2 separate regions of the Homo sapiens genome follow, and region 2 is linked to region 1. Evidence: promoter capture Hi-C in 16 types of primary human blood cells and fetal thymus (Javierre and others, 2016). All regions are on one chromosome and are shown on one strand. The core of a region is centred on a gene start or on the middle of the fragment in contact, and the rest is flanking DNA. Distances in the headings are between cores, read along the strand shown.

What was found. The method cuts DNA at HindIII sites, captures the fragments that hold promoters and counts their contacts. A CHiCAGO score of 5 or more calls a contact.
Region 2: a contact is called between a fragment that was not itself captured here and the fragment with the promoter of NFS1 in region 1, in 1 of 17 cell types (endothelial precursors). The highest score is 5.9, in endothelial precursors.

The regions. Positions count from the first base shown.
Region 1 is chr20:35,694,469-35,702,063 of GRCh38, forward strand. NFS1 (NFS1 cysteine desulfurase) reads right to left here and starts at 4,884. Exons shown (of 13, transcript NM_021100.5): 1 at 4,724-4,884; 2 at 4,013-4,122; 3 at 3,216-3,332; 4 at 1,909-1,992. The coding sequence starts at 4,820. ROMO1 (reactive oxygen species modulator 1) reads left to right here and starts at 4,937. Exons shown (of 3, transcript NM_080748.3): 1 at 4,937-4,988; 2 at 5,165-5,295; 3 at 6,330-6,512. The coding sequence starts at 5,165. The coding sequence ends at 6,438. RBM39 (RNA binding motif protein 39) reads right to left here. Exons shown (of 17, transcript NM_184234.3): 17 at 6,879-7,595. RefSeq lists enhancers at 4,451-5,110, 5,111-5,770, 5,342-5,561 and a silencer at 4,662-4,851. The HindIII fragment of the contact is 3,611 bases long and covers 3,999-7,595 here.
Region 2 is chr20:35,914,988-35,922,582 of GRCh38, forward strand. It overlaps PHF20 (PHD finger protein 20), which reads left to right. Exons shown (of 18, transcript NM_016436.5): 13 at 2,497-2,675. Among named protein-coding and RNA genes, the nearest start is that of SCAND1, 36 kb to the right of the region's middle. The HindIII fragment of the contact is 8,181 bases long and covers 1-7,595 here.

The DNA of each region.
Region 1 (7,595 bases), core at 3,634-6,133:
ACACATAAATAAAATAAAAGCAGAATATTAAACCATATAGGACAAAATTATAACTATGTAAAAATGGTCTGTTCATGAGGACAAAGAACATAAATGAGAAACATTTATAATTGATTTATACTCTATTTTATCCTAAAAAGTATTTACATCAGTAAGTAAAAATGGTTGTGGGGCACTTTGGGAGGCCGAGGAGGGCGGATCACGAGGTCAGGAGATCGAGACCATTCTGGCTAACACAGTGAAACCCTGTCTCTACTAAAAATACAAAAAATTAGCCGGGTGTGGTGGAGGGCGCCTGTAGTCCCAGCTACTCAGGAGGCTGAGGCAGGAGAATGGCGTGAACCCAGGAGGCGGAGCTTGCAGTGAGTCAAGATCGTGCCACTGCACTCCAGCCTGGATGACAGAGTGAGACTCAGTCTAAAAAAAAAAAAAGAAAAAATGGTTGTGGGATGGTGATGATAGTTCAAAATGTTACAGTTGTTTATAAAAATTTCATTTAAATGACATTTCACCACCCACCCACCTTATTTTATCTCAGTTACCCATGATGTAGATTTCTTTAACAATTTATAGATTATTTTACTCTACCAATCATGGAGATTAAAAGAAACATCATCACAGGTACTCTTAGCGATCCTTGACCTGTTGGTTTGGAATCTGTGGAGACTTCCAAAGAAAATATTTTCGAAGTTTTGAAAATGCTCTCCATTTCAGAAACCATCTCCACCTTTGGAGGAACCTTCACCCCGACTCTCTGGTCTCTGCAGTCCCAAGGAAGGATGCCTTCCTGTTAACATGATCAGGCAGAGTGCTGATGACCCTGAAGCCCGTCCTAGGCCTCCTATATTCAGGCCAAGGTCAAAGAAACCAACACTGGCAGCACAGTTCAAAGACAAAGATGAGAGCAAGTGGAGCCAGAGTTCAAAGTACAGCAAGCCACAATTTCTCAGAGCCTTGGCATTTACTCACATAATCCTGGCAACCAGGCCCAGTGAAATCTGACTATGTTCTATGAAACACCAACGTGACTACTAAAAGTACCTTTTCCTTGCATTAGCACCAAAGATCTTCTATGTACCCAGGACAAAATGACTGATCCCAGAATGGGTGACCATGTGAATGCCTGCAGAGGGCACCACAAAGACAAGCACTTCAAAATGGAGATATCTAAAGAAACAGGAGGAACTTGTTGCAAATAGATCTGATCAGAAAGAAAAAGGAAGGCTGAGAGGAGGACAGCCCTGAAATCACATATATAACTTGTTGTTACTAGATAAAAAGAATGGAGAAAGGCCGGGTACGGTGGCTCACACCTGTAATCCCAGCACTTTGGGAGGTCGAGATGGGAGGATCATCAGGTCAAGAGATTGAGATCATCCTGGCCAATATGGTGAAACCCCATCTCTACTAAAAATATAAAAATTAGTTGGGCATGGTGGCGGGCACCTGTACTCCCAGCTACTCTGGAGGCTGAGGCAGGAGAATCACTTGAACCTGGGAGGTGGAGTTTGCAGTGAGCTGAGATTGCGCCACTGCACTCCAGCCTGGCGACAGAGTGAGACTATGTATCAAAAAAAAAAAGAAGAATGGAGAAAAGGTTCAATCACCATTATCCACTCTCTGAAGTAACTGCCAGACAAAAAAAAAACAAGTGGTTAATGGCCTGAGGGCCACCTCCTTTGCTATCCAACTGCCTCACTCAACTCAGACCAACAGCAGCAAAGACTTAAGAAAGAGTAGACTGCAAAGGGTTAAAGGAAGCAACAAATCAGAAAGACTGCAAGCCTTCTCTTCACAATGGGGTGGGGATGGATGGCTGCGAAATACATATACGAGTCCAAATGATGGAGGGACACTATCTCCTAGGTCAGGAAAGCCCACATACACCCTCTGGTTCCCTTCTCTTACCTTAATTGCTATGTTGTTGGATTCAGTAGCACCACTAGTAAAAATGATCTCACGAGGATCAGCTCCAATCAGAGATGCTACTTGCTGCAAGCCAAGAAACAGAGATATATAACATCAGTTCCCCAGGCAGAAATAGAGCTGCAGACACAGGTGGGACAGCCCTGGAGCAAGAAGAGCTCCACTGCATTCCACCAAATTGCCCTGGATGAAGGTCTGCACCTACAAGAATCAGATTCTAGTTATATCCCAGATCCCAGGCTCTTTTCCAGCCCAATGCAAAATAATAACTTTTTTTTTTTAATGAACTATTGGCCAGGTGTGGTGGGTCACTCCTGTAACCCCAGCACTTTGGGAGGCCGAGGTGGAAAGATCACCTGAGGTCAGGAGTTCGAGACCAACCTGGCCAACATGGTGAAACTCCATTTCTACTAAGAATACAAAAATATTAGGCCGGGCATGGTGGCTCAAGCCTGTAATCCCAGCACTTTGGGAGGCTGAGGCAGGTGGATCACCTGAGGTCGGGAATTCAAGACCAGCCTGACCAACATGGAGAAACCCCGTCTCTACTAAAAATACAAATTTACCCGGGTGTGGTGGCGCATGCCTGTAATCCCAGCTACTTGGGAGGCTGAGGTAGGAGAACTGCTTGAACCCGGGAGGCAGAGGTTGCAGTGAGCCGAGATCGTGCCACTGCACTGCAGCCTGGGTAACAAGAGCAAAACTCTGTCTCAAATAATAGTAAATAAATAAATAAATAAAAATACAAAAATATTAGCTAGGCATGGTGGCGTGTGCCTGTAATCCCAATTACTTGGGAGGCTGAGGCAGCAGAATCACTTGAACCCGGGAGGCAGAGGTTGCAGTGAGCCAAGATCGTGCGCCACTGCACTCCAGTCTGGGCAACAAATGTGAAAACTCCATCTCATAAAAAAAAAAAAAAAGAACTATTGAGCTCTTACTATTTATAGTACTTCTTACTTACAGATGTTGTGGTAATAAACACTTTATCAGCATTGTCTTATTTAATCCACCCAGTAACCCTACAGAGTAGAAACTACCACAATCTCTGTTTTAAATGAGGAAAATAAGGCTCAAAGAAATTAGATAACTTGCCCAAGTCATTTAGCCAGGAAATATGGGAACCAATCAAATGCCTGCAGTCAAACTCCAAGGCTGCTCTTTGAATCTCTTCCAGAAAGAATCCAAAACCATTTCTACCTCCATGCACACCTACCAAGAAAGAAATGCCTCCCACAGGCCACTGCCCCTCTTTGACCTTAGAACCTCCTAGACTCCTGTGTACTAACCTGACGAGCACGTTCCATGGCTGCCTCACTCTCCCAGCCATAAGCATGTGTCCGGGAGTGTGGGTTCCCATAGTAGTTGATTAGGTAAGGGAGCATGGCATCAAGCACCCGGGGGTCCTGAACACAACAGAACAGATCATTTTCCTTGAGCGCATCGTCAATTCAGGTCCCACTCCACCCCTCAGACCTGGCCACCCTGCCTTAAGACACTCTCAACCCCTCAGGCACTGCCTAGAGGAGGCCTCAAACATTCTTTTGTTCCCACAAAACTACCCACCAAATATCAACCTAATACACTCCCACTCACAACCCATCCCAACTCGGATTGTTCTGCCTCCCCTCAGGTAGTCTACAAACACTGCCTTGTTCCGACATCTGTTTCTGCTGGTGTTTCCATTCCTGCCAGGTAATGTGATCTATAAGGGGCTGGGACAGGACAGGGCCTAGGCAAACACCCCTGGTCACACATTGGTGAAAACTTGCATTAGTCTTTTAACCCGTTTAATACTTGTCCAAGTTCACACAGTTACTAAGTGGCCGTTCTGCTCATTCCAGAGCCCATGCTTTTAACTAATACTATAGAGCCTGCGCTGAAGTGATCTGACCAAGGTCAATTGCTAGTGAGTAGTAAAGCCAATGCCAGTGGCCTCGAATTTAAGCCTCCCGACTCCTCGCTCAGTGCTTTTTCCAGCACACCTTCACGGCTCTCACTTCTCCAGGGATTCAGCCATTTCTTTGCGTGATCACGCCCATCATTTACTTCCTATAAGCAGCCTTGGGAAAAGCTTCATCCTTACCAGAGGAGTTGTAGCTTGCACATCCATATAGAGAGGTCGCAGCACTGGCCCCACCTCCGGGGCAGCGGCTGTATCTGCGGGAACCGCAGACTGAGGAGCACGGTCTCCAACTGATAAAAAATGGAACGGAGTAGCCAAGTAAGACCGAAGGCAACTATGAACGCATGGCATCCAAAGGGCAGAAGGAAAAATCTGGCTGGAGGTGAGATAAGTGTAAGGGATGCTAGGGTCGAATCTCAATGGAAAGAAAACAACACCAGATACCTGACACGCTGTAAAAGGAGGTAAGGGAGAGGGAGAGAGGGTTCCTGGAGGGGGTGTTGAGTTGATATTCAAATGGTATCGTAGGAAGGAAGGCTCTAAAGGGCAAAGACGTTTAGAAGGAACGTGGAGCCAGAGTAGGTGCAGTCCCTTCTGACCGAAGGTAACGGTCTGCACGGGAGCCCGGAGCAGCATCTGTAACTTGGCCAGGAGCGGTCTGAAGGACGCGCCTCCACGGCTCTGGGGGCCTGTCGCGCAGGGTGCGAGGGGTGGTGCGCCGGGGTCAACCGTTCGGGGACCCGCCTAAGAAAGTTTGAGGGATGTGTCATTTGAGAGAAGGGTCAGAGGGTCTGGGCAGCAGGGTGGACAGGAAGGCTCCGGAATATTCAGTTGCGTCGCCGCGCGGAGGGGACAGGTCCGCGCCTCCCGGAGAGCGGGACCCGAGCGTACCGCGCAGGCGCAGCCCCCGAGTGGGCGCCGCGGGCTTCGGCCCTGGAGCCGCTGTCACCGCCACTGCCGCCCGCCTCCAAGCGGCTCGGAGCAGCATGGTCCCGCTGGCAGAGCCCACCTTCCGAAGCCGCTGCAGTCCTGGGCCCCAGGCTCCCGGAAGTGCTGCCCGGCGCTCCGGAAGCGATTCATCGGGCCGCGAGCGCCCTCCCCGTCGTTTTCCGTGAGAGACGTAGAGCTGAGCGACCCAGCCCGCGAGCGAGGTGAGGTAGGCGCCGGGCGACGCGGGGCCGGAACGCGAAGAGGGTGGTGGAGTCGGGCTACCCACTGATTTTCCTTCCCTTACTTCCCCTGAGCCCTTGGGCCCACTTCCCAGCCTACCGCTTCCGTCCCCGCCCGACTCTTGGGCCAGCGCCTGGGCCCACACTTTCCTATCCCCCGCAGATGCCGGTGGCCGTGGGTCCCTACGGACAGTCCCAGCCAAGCTGCTTCGACCGTGTCAAAATGGGCTTCGTGATGGGTTGCGCCGTGGGCATGGCGGCCGGGGCGCTCTTCGGCACCTTTTCCTGTCTCAGGTGAGGGGCGCGGGCGGTGATCTCTGGGCAGGACAACCAGACCTTCCGGCCCTGCCCCATTCGGCCTGGAGCCTGAACACAGCCTCCTTCTTTCGACTTCCCTCTCTGTCCCCTCGCGAGCCAGACTCATTCCAAACCACCTTCAATCTGTAAAGTCAGGTTGGAAGCGTCAGTGCTTAAGAATTTGAGCTTTAGAGTCAAAATGCTTTCTGGCCCTTTTCTTACTGGTTCGGTGACTTTAGGCAAGTTGGAGACTGGGTTTCCTTAAGTGTAGAATGAAGACAGTAGCATCTAACTTATAGAGTTGTAAAAATTCGATCAGCACACTTTGCACAGCATCTGGCACATATTAAGTGCTCAGTAACTAGTTACTACTGTTGCTTTTATTTTTTTTTCCAATTGCGCATAAGGAAAGAAACTCGTTCAGCGGTTTTACTATTCTGGATACAGGATACAGAGATAAAGCAGTTAAACTTTACACTCTAAAGGTCATTTTCACATTTAGAGGCTGTTATTGCCATATCCCTAGATTGTAAATTATCATTTACAGAGCACTTACTCTATGTTAAGCACTGTGCTAAATACTGTAGTTTTCAAAATCCTGTAAATAATGTTGAGATGCCCATTTTACACTTGACACTATGTGTAAATTGTAGAGCTGACTCTTGAACCCCCACCTTACTCCAAAATCATTAACACCAAGAAACTAAAAGACAGATGTCTTTATTGGGTCTTAAACTGCAGGCAACACCAGTCAAAAAAGCTGGTTTCTCTATGTATTTTACACTGCATCTGCTGCCTCCCACAAACTGAAGGCAGTTAATACGACATCCACCAGAAAAATACCCTGGAGACCCAGATGGATCTTTTTCCTTCTCATTACCCACCCCAGGTAGTAAGATATAATATCCAGTAAGTGGAAAATCAGATGTAGGGGTTGCTAGACTAGTGTTAGCAAAAAATTGGAAAGGAGCAGTTAATACTCTTTCTGATATTTTTGTTACCAAATAGCTCCATCTTGGTTTCCTCCTCAGGATCGGAATGCGGGGTCGAGAGCTGATGGGCGGCATTGGGAAAACCATGATGCAGAGTGGCGGCACCTTTGGCACATTCATGGCCATTGGGATGGGCATCCGATGCTAACCATGGTTGCCAACTACATCTGTCCCTTCCCATCAATCCCAGCCCATGTACTAATAAAAGAAAGTCTTTGAGTAGTCAGTGTCCCTCTCTTAAAGGAATATTCTTCTCTCAGCCTATTATCCAGCTTTGCCAAGGATCTTCTGCACTAAAGAGATGGACTAACGTAATGACTAGGGTTAGTATCTCTTTCACAAGGCCTGCCTCTCTTAATCCAAAATTGGAAAACTTGGGAGTGTCTAGTATTTTCCATAGATACTATTCAACTAATTACTCAGTACAACTCTGTGCTTGTTACTACGGTCACCATTTTAAAGGAGAAAAACTACTTCAAAAAATGGATTTATAAGCCGAAATTTCCTCAAGGTCACACATTGCATTATTTCCAAAGCAATGTTCATCCTGAGGTTGGTTGTTTCCTTGGTCGCCCAGGTTGGAGTGCAGTGGCACGATCTCGGCTTACCGCAACTTCTGCCTCCTGTGTTCAAGCGTTTCTCCTGCCTCAGCCTCCCGAGTAGCTGTGATAACAGGCACGTGCCACCATGCCTAGCTAAATTTTGTATTGTTAGGCTGGGCGCGGTGGCTTATGCCTGTAATCCCAGCACTTTGGGAGGCAAAGGCTGGTGGATCACAAGGTCAGGAGATGGAGACCATCTTGGGTAACACGGTGACACCCCGTCTCTACTAAAAATACAAAAACTTAAGCCGGGTGTGTTGACACGCGCCTGTATTCCCAGCTACTCGGGAGGCTGAGGCAGGAGAATCGCTTGAACCCAGAAGGTGGAGGTTGCAGTGAGCTGAGATCGAGCCATTGCACTCCAGCCTGGGCGACAGAGCGAGACTCTGTCTCAAAACAAAAAAAATTTGTATTCTTAGTAGAGACGGGGTTTCACTGTGTTGGCCAGGCTGGTCTCAAACTCTTGACCTCATGATCCACCCGCCTCCGCCTCCCAGTGTTCACATATACAGGCATAAGGCACCACGTCCAGCCCGAGGTTGTTATTTAGATATACCTAGTGGCTTTATCAGAAAAAGCAAAACAGTTCATCCACTGTAAAAAAAAATAGAAACTTCTGTAGCTTCTCAACTGGCTAAATTCCAGATGATTTTCTAACCACTCATCAACAATCTATATAGCTTGCCCTCCACAAAACTTACTA
Region 2 (7,595 bases), core at 2,382-4,881, 220 kb after region 1:
TATGTTATATATATACATATACATATATATATGTATATATGTAAAAAAAAAGGTAAAATGTTTTATATATATATATATAGATATACACACACTTACACACATATATATATGTGCTCAACCTAATATGGGCCCTGGAAGGGAGGCACCCACTCACCCAGGTGTTACAAAGTCCTGCTGGCATTGAAAAGCCTTCTCACTTGCTGCATTGGCCAGTGTGTCCTGCTACAGGATGGTACATATGAAGGCATTGAAGTGTAAGTGGATGTGCAGGTGAATGATGGTATTTGTTCACACACACGACTCTTAAAACATATCTTTGAGCCCTCTTGAGAAAGGGTTTATATATATAATTTATATTTTAAAATATATATATATATTTTGTTTTGTTTTGTTTTGTTTTGCTTTGTTTTTGTTTTTGAGACAGAGTCTCACTCTGTTGCCCAGGCTGGAGTGCAGTGGCGCGATCTTGGCTCACTGCAACCTCTGCCTCCTGGATTCAAGCAATTCTCCTGTCTCAACCTCCCAAGTTGCTGGGATTACAGGTGTACGCCACCACGCCTGGCTAATTTTTGTATTTTTAGTATACACAGGGTTTCACCATGTTGGTCAGGCTGGTCTTGAACTCCTGACCTTGTGATCCACCCACTTCGACCTCCCAAAGTGCTGGGATTACAGGCATGAGCCACCGTGCCTGGACTGTTACATTTCTTAAAACTTTCTTTGAAATAAAATTAGTTTAGTTATTCCATATGTCCTGAAAAATGTGACATATGTGTTCATTAGATCAATCTTGTTTTGATGTAATGTTCAAAAATTTGAACTAGCAATACATTTCATTATGTTAACTGACAATTTAAAAAATGAAAGCTGGGTGCAATGTCCCACACCTGTAATCCCAACACTCTGGGAGGCTGAGGCGGGTGGATTGCTTGACCCCAGAAGTTCAAGACCAGCCTGGGCAACATGGCAAACCTTGCCTCTACAAAAAATACAAAAAAAGTTAGCCGGTTGTTGTGGCATGCACCTGTAATCTCAGCTACTTAGGAGGCTCAGGTGGGAGGAACACCTCAGCCCAGGAGGTCAAGGCTGCAGTGAGCTGTGATCATGCCACTGCACTCTGGGAGAAAGAATGAGACCCTGTCTCAAAAATAAGTAAATAAAATAAAAATAATAAAAAGTAAAACAATATTTTATTGCTTAAAAATGCTGACAGACACAAAGTATTTGCTTTTGCAATAATGGTGTCAGTAGACTTTCAGGGTTGCTGCCACACACCTTCAATTTGTAAAATAATATACAATATCTGTGAAGTGCAATAAAATATTAATAGTTATGCCTGACTTAGAACAGTATCTGCTTCAGAACAAGCGCTTAGTAAAAGTTAGCTGTGATTATAACTAATCAGGCATCAAGTGATTCTGCCTCTGATTATCCCTGGAATCTTCCTCTTCCTCATTCCTCACTGTCTATAGAGTTTTTGTTTTTGATTTTTGTTTTTGAGACGGAGTCTCACTCTGTCACCCAGGCTGGAGTGCAGTGGCGTGATCTTGGCTCACTGCAACCTCTGCCTCCTGGGTTCAAGTGATTCTCCTGCCTCAGCCTCCCCATAGCTGGGATTACAGGCGCACACCACCACACCTAGCTAATTTTTTTGTATTTTTAGTAGAGACAGGGTTTCACCACGTTGGCCAGGCTGGTCTCAAATCCTAGGCTCAAGTGATCGGCCCACCTTGGCCTCCTAAAGTGCTGGGATTACAGGCGTGAGCCACTGTGCCCAGCCTGTTTGTCTTTTGAGACAAAGTCTCACGCTGTCACCCAGGATGGAGTGCAGTGGTGTGATCATAGCTCACTGCAGCCTCAAACTCGCAGGCTCAAGGGATCCTCCTGCCTCAGCCTCCTCAGTAGCTGGGACTGTAGACGTGCATCACCGTGCCCAGCTAATTTTTTTTTTCTTTTAGTGGAGATGGGGTTTTGCCATGTTGCCCAGGCTTGACTTGAACTCTTGAGTGCAAGCAATCCTCCTCCTTCGGCCTCCCAAAATGCTGGTATTAGAGGCATGAACCACCATGCTCAGCCTTTGTTTACAGAGTTTTAAAGGTAGCTCTGGATACAGACAGACTGTAAGCCAGGTCCTGACTGGATGGAGTGAGGCTGAAGAACATGTTAGAGTTGTCAGGGATGGTGGCCTGTGTGGTTCATGGGGAGTTGTAGCTCCTCTGCCACTGAGTTCTATGATCTTGAGTAGCCACTGCCGTTGGGCTTCATTCTCTCAGTGAAATGAGGAAGTGGAGTTGAGTTCACTGCCAGGCAGCATGCTTCGTTTGGGCTGTTACTAAATGACAGATCCAAGGACAGATTGGCATCCTCGTTTCCTTGCCCTATGAATGTTCTTGTTTGGAGGTATGGGACTATAATGTCATTTTTCATTCTTGACAATCAAAGGTTTTTTAATTTTATAACCTAAAATAGTAACTGTTGTTTTCCCTTTCCTCGTAGAGGAGGATAATTTGAGTGAGTCCTCTTCTGAGAGCTTTCTCTGGAGTGATGATGAGTATGGCCAAGATGTGGATGTGACCACCAACCCAGATGAGGAACTTGATGGGGATGACCGCTATGACTTCGAGGTGGTCCGCTGCATCTGTGAGGTCCAGGAGGAAAATGACTTCATGATTCAGGTAGGCAGAGCTTCCAGGAAACAGGTCTAGAGAAGCACAAACTGGTCCTTGGAGGGAATTTTGAGGCCAGCAACAATGGCAAGTCATAGCAGAGCCCCAGAAACACAGCACGAACGGCAGCAGACTGAGCTTCTCTTTTTCGTTTGGCTTCCTCAGAGTTCCAGGCTGCCATACATAGTCCATTGATGGAGTAAGAGAGGACTTTAGGGATCACTGAGTCTAAACCTCTCATGCTCTGCTTGAGGCAGCTGGGACCCGCAAATGGGAAGGGCCTTGCCTGTGGTCACAAAGTGAGGAGTTGAACAGCAGGGACTGAAATCTTTGGAGTGGCAGTTTAATCTTCCCATGGACTCTTATCTTCTCTTTGAGGTAAATTTTCTTTAAGATCCAAAGTCATGCAGGCTGGCTTTATAACTTCTATGTTTCTTTTTCTTTATTTTCCTGACATTTGAGTCTGTCATCTTCATCTCTGAGATGTGCCTGTGGTGGGTGGGACCTCCTTACCTGCTTGGGGAAACCATGCCTGGCCAGCACCTGCCTGCCCTGTCCCTTGTCTGTAAATTGCAGTTCTGGGAGAGGTGGCGCTGGCTGGCTGGCTCCTAAGGGTGTCACAAGTTCCCTGGGTGTCTTGACAGCTGCCCAACTGGCTTGGGAAGCTGAGTTTTTAAAAGTCATGGTTATATTGGTTAGGATTTTTTTTTAGGGGCAAGTACAAATATTGTTGGGAAAATAGACTGGGTCCTAGGGCTCAGAGGCAGGGCTGCTTTCAGGCTCAGAACCTGGAATTCCATCTTGAGGGCCTTGGTCTGCCTTGTTTCCTGCTTCTCTGGAGTCCTTTTGGTTCTTTTTTATTTTATTCCTTGCTTATTTTCTTGGAAAATGCAAAATGGCCACCTTTGGCCTCGCCCCAATTTTACATTTTTGTGTTCAAGAGGCTAGGTAGACCAAGGTCAGAATCTTAGTCCCAGTTCTAAATTTCTGAGTAAGTAATTCCAGCCAAATTTAGATCAGATATTAGTTTTTGGAACAGTCACCTGTGGCCAGAGGGGAAAGAGGTTTGTTATGGATCAAATGCTCTCCCCTGGTCTAGTTGTCTGATCTGGTGGTAGTAGAGCTTACAGATTATCGACAGGGGCAAAAAGACTGCCTGGGGCCCACCTGTGTTATATTATAGCGTTAATGGGGGTTCAGGGATTGTTCCCAGTAAAGGGGGTGGCTGCCCATTGTCCAATAAGAATCTGTATAGCCTATTGAGATTATGAGAAACAGGCCCAGCCCCTTTGGCTTGCTTTCTGTGATAGAATATTATTTCCTTGCCCTTTCAGTACTGTAGGTTGGCATGGCATGGGTTTGGTTTTTTTTTTCTTTTTGAGACGGAGTTTTGCACTTGTTTCCCAGGCTGGAGTGCAATGGCGCGATTTCGGCTCACCACCACCCTCTGCCTCCCAGGTTCAAGCGATTCGCCTGCCTCCACTGCCCGAGTAGCTGGGATTACAGGCATGTGCTACCACGCCCGGCTAATTTTTGTATTTTCAGTAGAGAAGCGGTTTCTCCATGTTGGTCAGGCTTGTCTGGAACTCCCGACCTCAGGTGATCCACCTGCCTTGGCCTCCCAAAGTATTGGGATTACAGGCGTGAGCCACCGCGCCTGGCAAAATATTTTTGTTATGGTAATTTTTTTTTTTTTTTTTTTTTGAGACGGAGTCTCCCTCTGTCACCCAGGCTGGAGTGCAATGGCGCAATCTCGGCTCACTGCAACCTCTGCCTCCCGGGTTCAAGCGATTCTCCTGCCTCAGCCCCCTGAGTAGCTGGGACTATAGGCGCCTGCCACCATGCCCGGCTAATTTTTGTATTTTTAGTAGAGACGGTGTTTCACCATATTGGCTAGGCTGGTCTTGAACTCTTGACCTTGTGATCTGCATGGCATGGATTTTTGAAATTCACTTTTGGATCTTGACTTAATATACAGTTACATTTTTTCCTCTCATCTTTGAATTTGTTGTCTTTATACTCAACAATCCCCTTTCCTTTTATTTCTTGAAACATTGGGACTTTTCCGTAGCTCTTTAAACTTTCAGAACAACTAGAGATGAGTAGATGTATTTGCTTTTTTGCCTTTTATTTTCCCAGGGCTTTTAGAAAACACTTTTATTTTGAAATAATTATAGATTCACAGGAGATTGTAAAGAGGTGTACAGGAGAGTCCCATGAATTCCTCTGCTGGTCTTCCTCCCATGGCAAAAGCCCATAAACCCACAGTAGGATATCAAAACTACAAAACCATTTGACATTGGCATAATCACTAGAGCTTATTCAGATTTTATCAGTGATATACACATACTCATTTGTGTGTGCATATAGCTCTGTGTGCTTTCATTACAAGTACAGCCTTGTGTAATCACTCCCGCAATCAAGGTACTGAGGTATACTAAGACCATGAGATTCCCTCCTGGTACCCATACTTTGTAGCCATACTTATCCCTAACCCTGGAAACACTAAACTGTTTCAACTGTCTATAATTATGTAATTTATGATTCTTGGTTAATGGAATCACGTGGTATGTATCTTTTTGAGAGAGGCCTTTTTTACTCTGTATAATATCCTTGAGATTCATCCATGTTGTTGTGTGTTTCAGTAGTCATTTATTCTTATTGTCCGGTAGTATTCCATGCTATGGATGTACCACAGTCGTGCTCTTTTTGTTAATAGAACTAAAGCAACTCTATGGAGCTAAGGTAACTGGGTACAGCTGAGTAGTGATTTAAAGTTTCTGGAGTGTTTTCAGAAATACCATCTCACCTCTAACAAGGCGATCTCAAGTCACTTATTTGGGAAAACAAAATTACGAAGATATGATTTCTTTCATTGTTGTAGAACCATTAAATAAGTCATCAGATTATGATTTGAACCCAGGGCACCCAGTCAAGTGCTCTTTCCCTATGCGGCCTTAGCTACGGGGATTTACATTTACAGTTGAGAAGTGAAACAAGAAAAATTTGTTTTTGAAACATAATAGTACCATCTAGCCTGGCTGACCAACCCTTCCCCAGCACCACCAGTGGACATGCGCATGTACATACACACATACATACCCACACTTTAGGCTGAGGGAGAGTCTTGTCTTTTTGAATAGCCTTCATAGTAACCTCTGGGATTCAAGGGTACCTGATATTTAAGACCTTTATTAAACCTTGGTTCAGTGGTTTTCAAACATTTTTGAATATCAGAACCCCTTTTCCTAATGGACTGTTTCATAGAACCCCAAAATGTGTAACAGGTAACAGCAATAGTTTTGAAAGTTCAAAATGGATAATCTTTACTTGTGAGGTCGGACATGTGAATGGTGGGCATATTCCCATGATTCTAATATGCTGTCAGAATTATGAGTGACAGACAGTTGCTGACTTGGAGCACTTCAGTGGCTCATTTGTTTTTCTCTATTTGGTTATACAACAGTGAGACAAGCGTGATGCACATGGCCATTGTCAGGGTGACTTTTCCTGAACAGCATGCTGTGTAGTTACTTTGATTAATCAGAGATGGGAGGACAAGCTCCGTTTTGAGGTCAACATAATACTGAGCTATCCTAGCAATACAAAATTATGTGTGGTGGCGGGCTTCATTGTCTTAACATATGGCTTGGAACATGTTTGAGTGTGCATCTTTTTTTTTTTAATTGTCCTACCTTAAAAACACACACATTTTGCAGACTCTCTGAAGCCCTGTGGACTACTATTAGATAATTGTTGGTTGGGCATGCTGTAATCCCAGAATTTTGGGAGGCAGAGGCGGGAGGATTGCTTGAGCCCAGGAGTTCGAGACCAGCCCTGGAAACATAGCAAGATCCTACCTCTACAAAAAAATTAAAAAATTAGCTGGGCATGGTGATGCATGCCAGCAGACCCAACTACTCCAGAGACTGAAGTAGGATGATCACTTGAGCCTGGGAGTTCAAGGCTGCAGCGAGCCCTGGTTATTCTGTTGCACTCCAGCCTGGGTGACAGAATGAGACCCTGTCCCCACCCTCCCCCCCAAAAAAAAGAAAAGAAAAAAAATGTTATATAACATGAAGACTATCATTTTTTAGTAGATTTTTTTTAAGTTTGTTTTTAAAAGGATGTTGAAGATCTTTAGTTTCTACTCTGTCATCCTTGAGCATATGCTCAGTTCCAGGCCTTGTTAGTCTGACAGATTTGCCCTTTATCTGCCTGTTAAAATCTTCAGTGGGTGAGTAATGAATGTCCCTCCTGGCAGGGCTATTCTGTCTAACAGTATGTAACCCATTTCTGATCCACTCTGGTACTTTCTCTATTGACTTTTCTATAAGTAGCAAGGATCTTGGTGTGTTTGAGGGTAGAGGTTAATATGCCATTATGTGCTATATGAAGAAACTAATTTCGGGGCAATTGGGGCCACCATGAGCATGGCAGAGTCAGGAGCCAACTTGATCTCCTGCTTCCCAGGCTCCACAAGACCTTGTGTCTCAAGCTCACTTCAGAGCTTCTTGGCTTTTGTTCCAGAGGACTTTTCTGTGCTGTCCACCTGAACCAAGAGTGCCCACCTGGCTTTGTGTTAAGGAGGGACGGTTTCTGACTGTCCTGTCACTGTGAGCAACGTACCTTTTCTACTCAATAACTTTATCAAAAGGCATAAGTTTAGAGGGAGCTAGCTAGAACAAATACAGTTTAAACTTTTAAAATGTATTCACCATCTAATTAGGAAGACAGGAATAAATTTTTCTTAAATCTTTACCTTAAATTGATATTTTGAATAACCCTAGAATACATTTAGAGTGTGTTTTCTAGAAGTGCATGTATTACTATAGAGAAATAACTTTTTGGATCATTGTCATTATATGAGTAGTATCAACATTGTTCATGTATATCACTATTTTATCTTATTTACCAGTGCTAATTTAA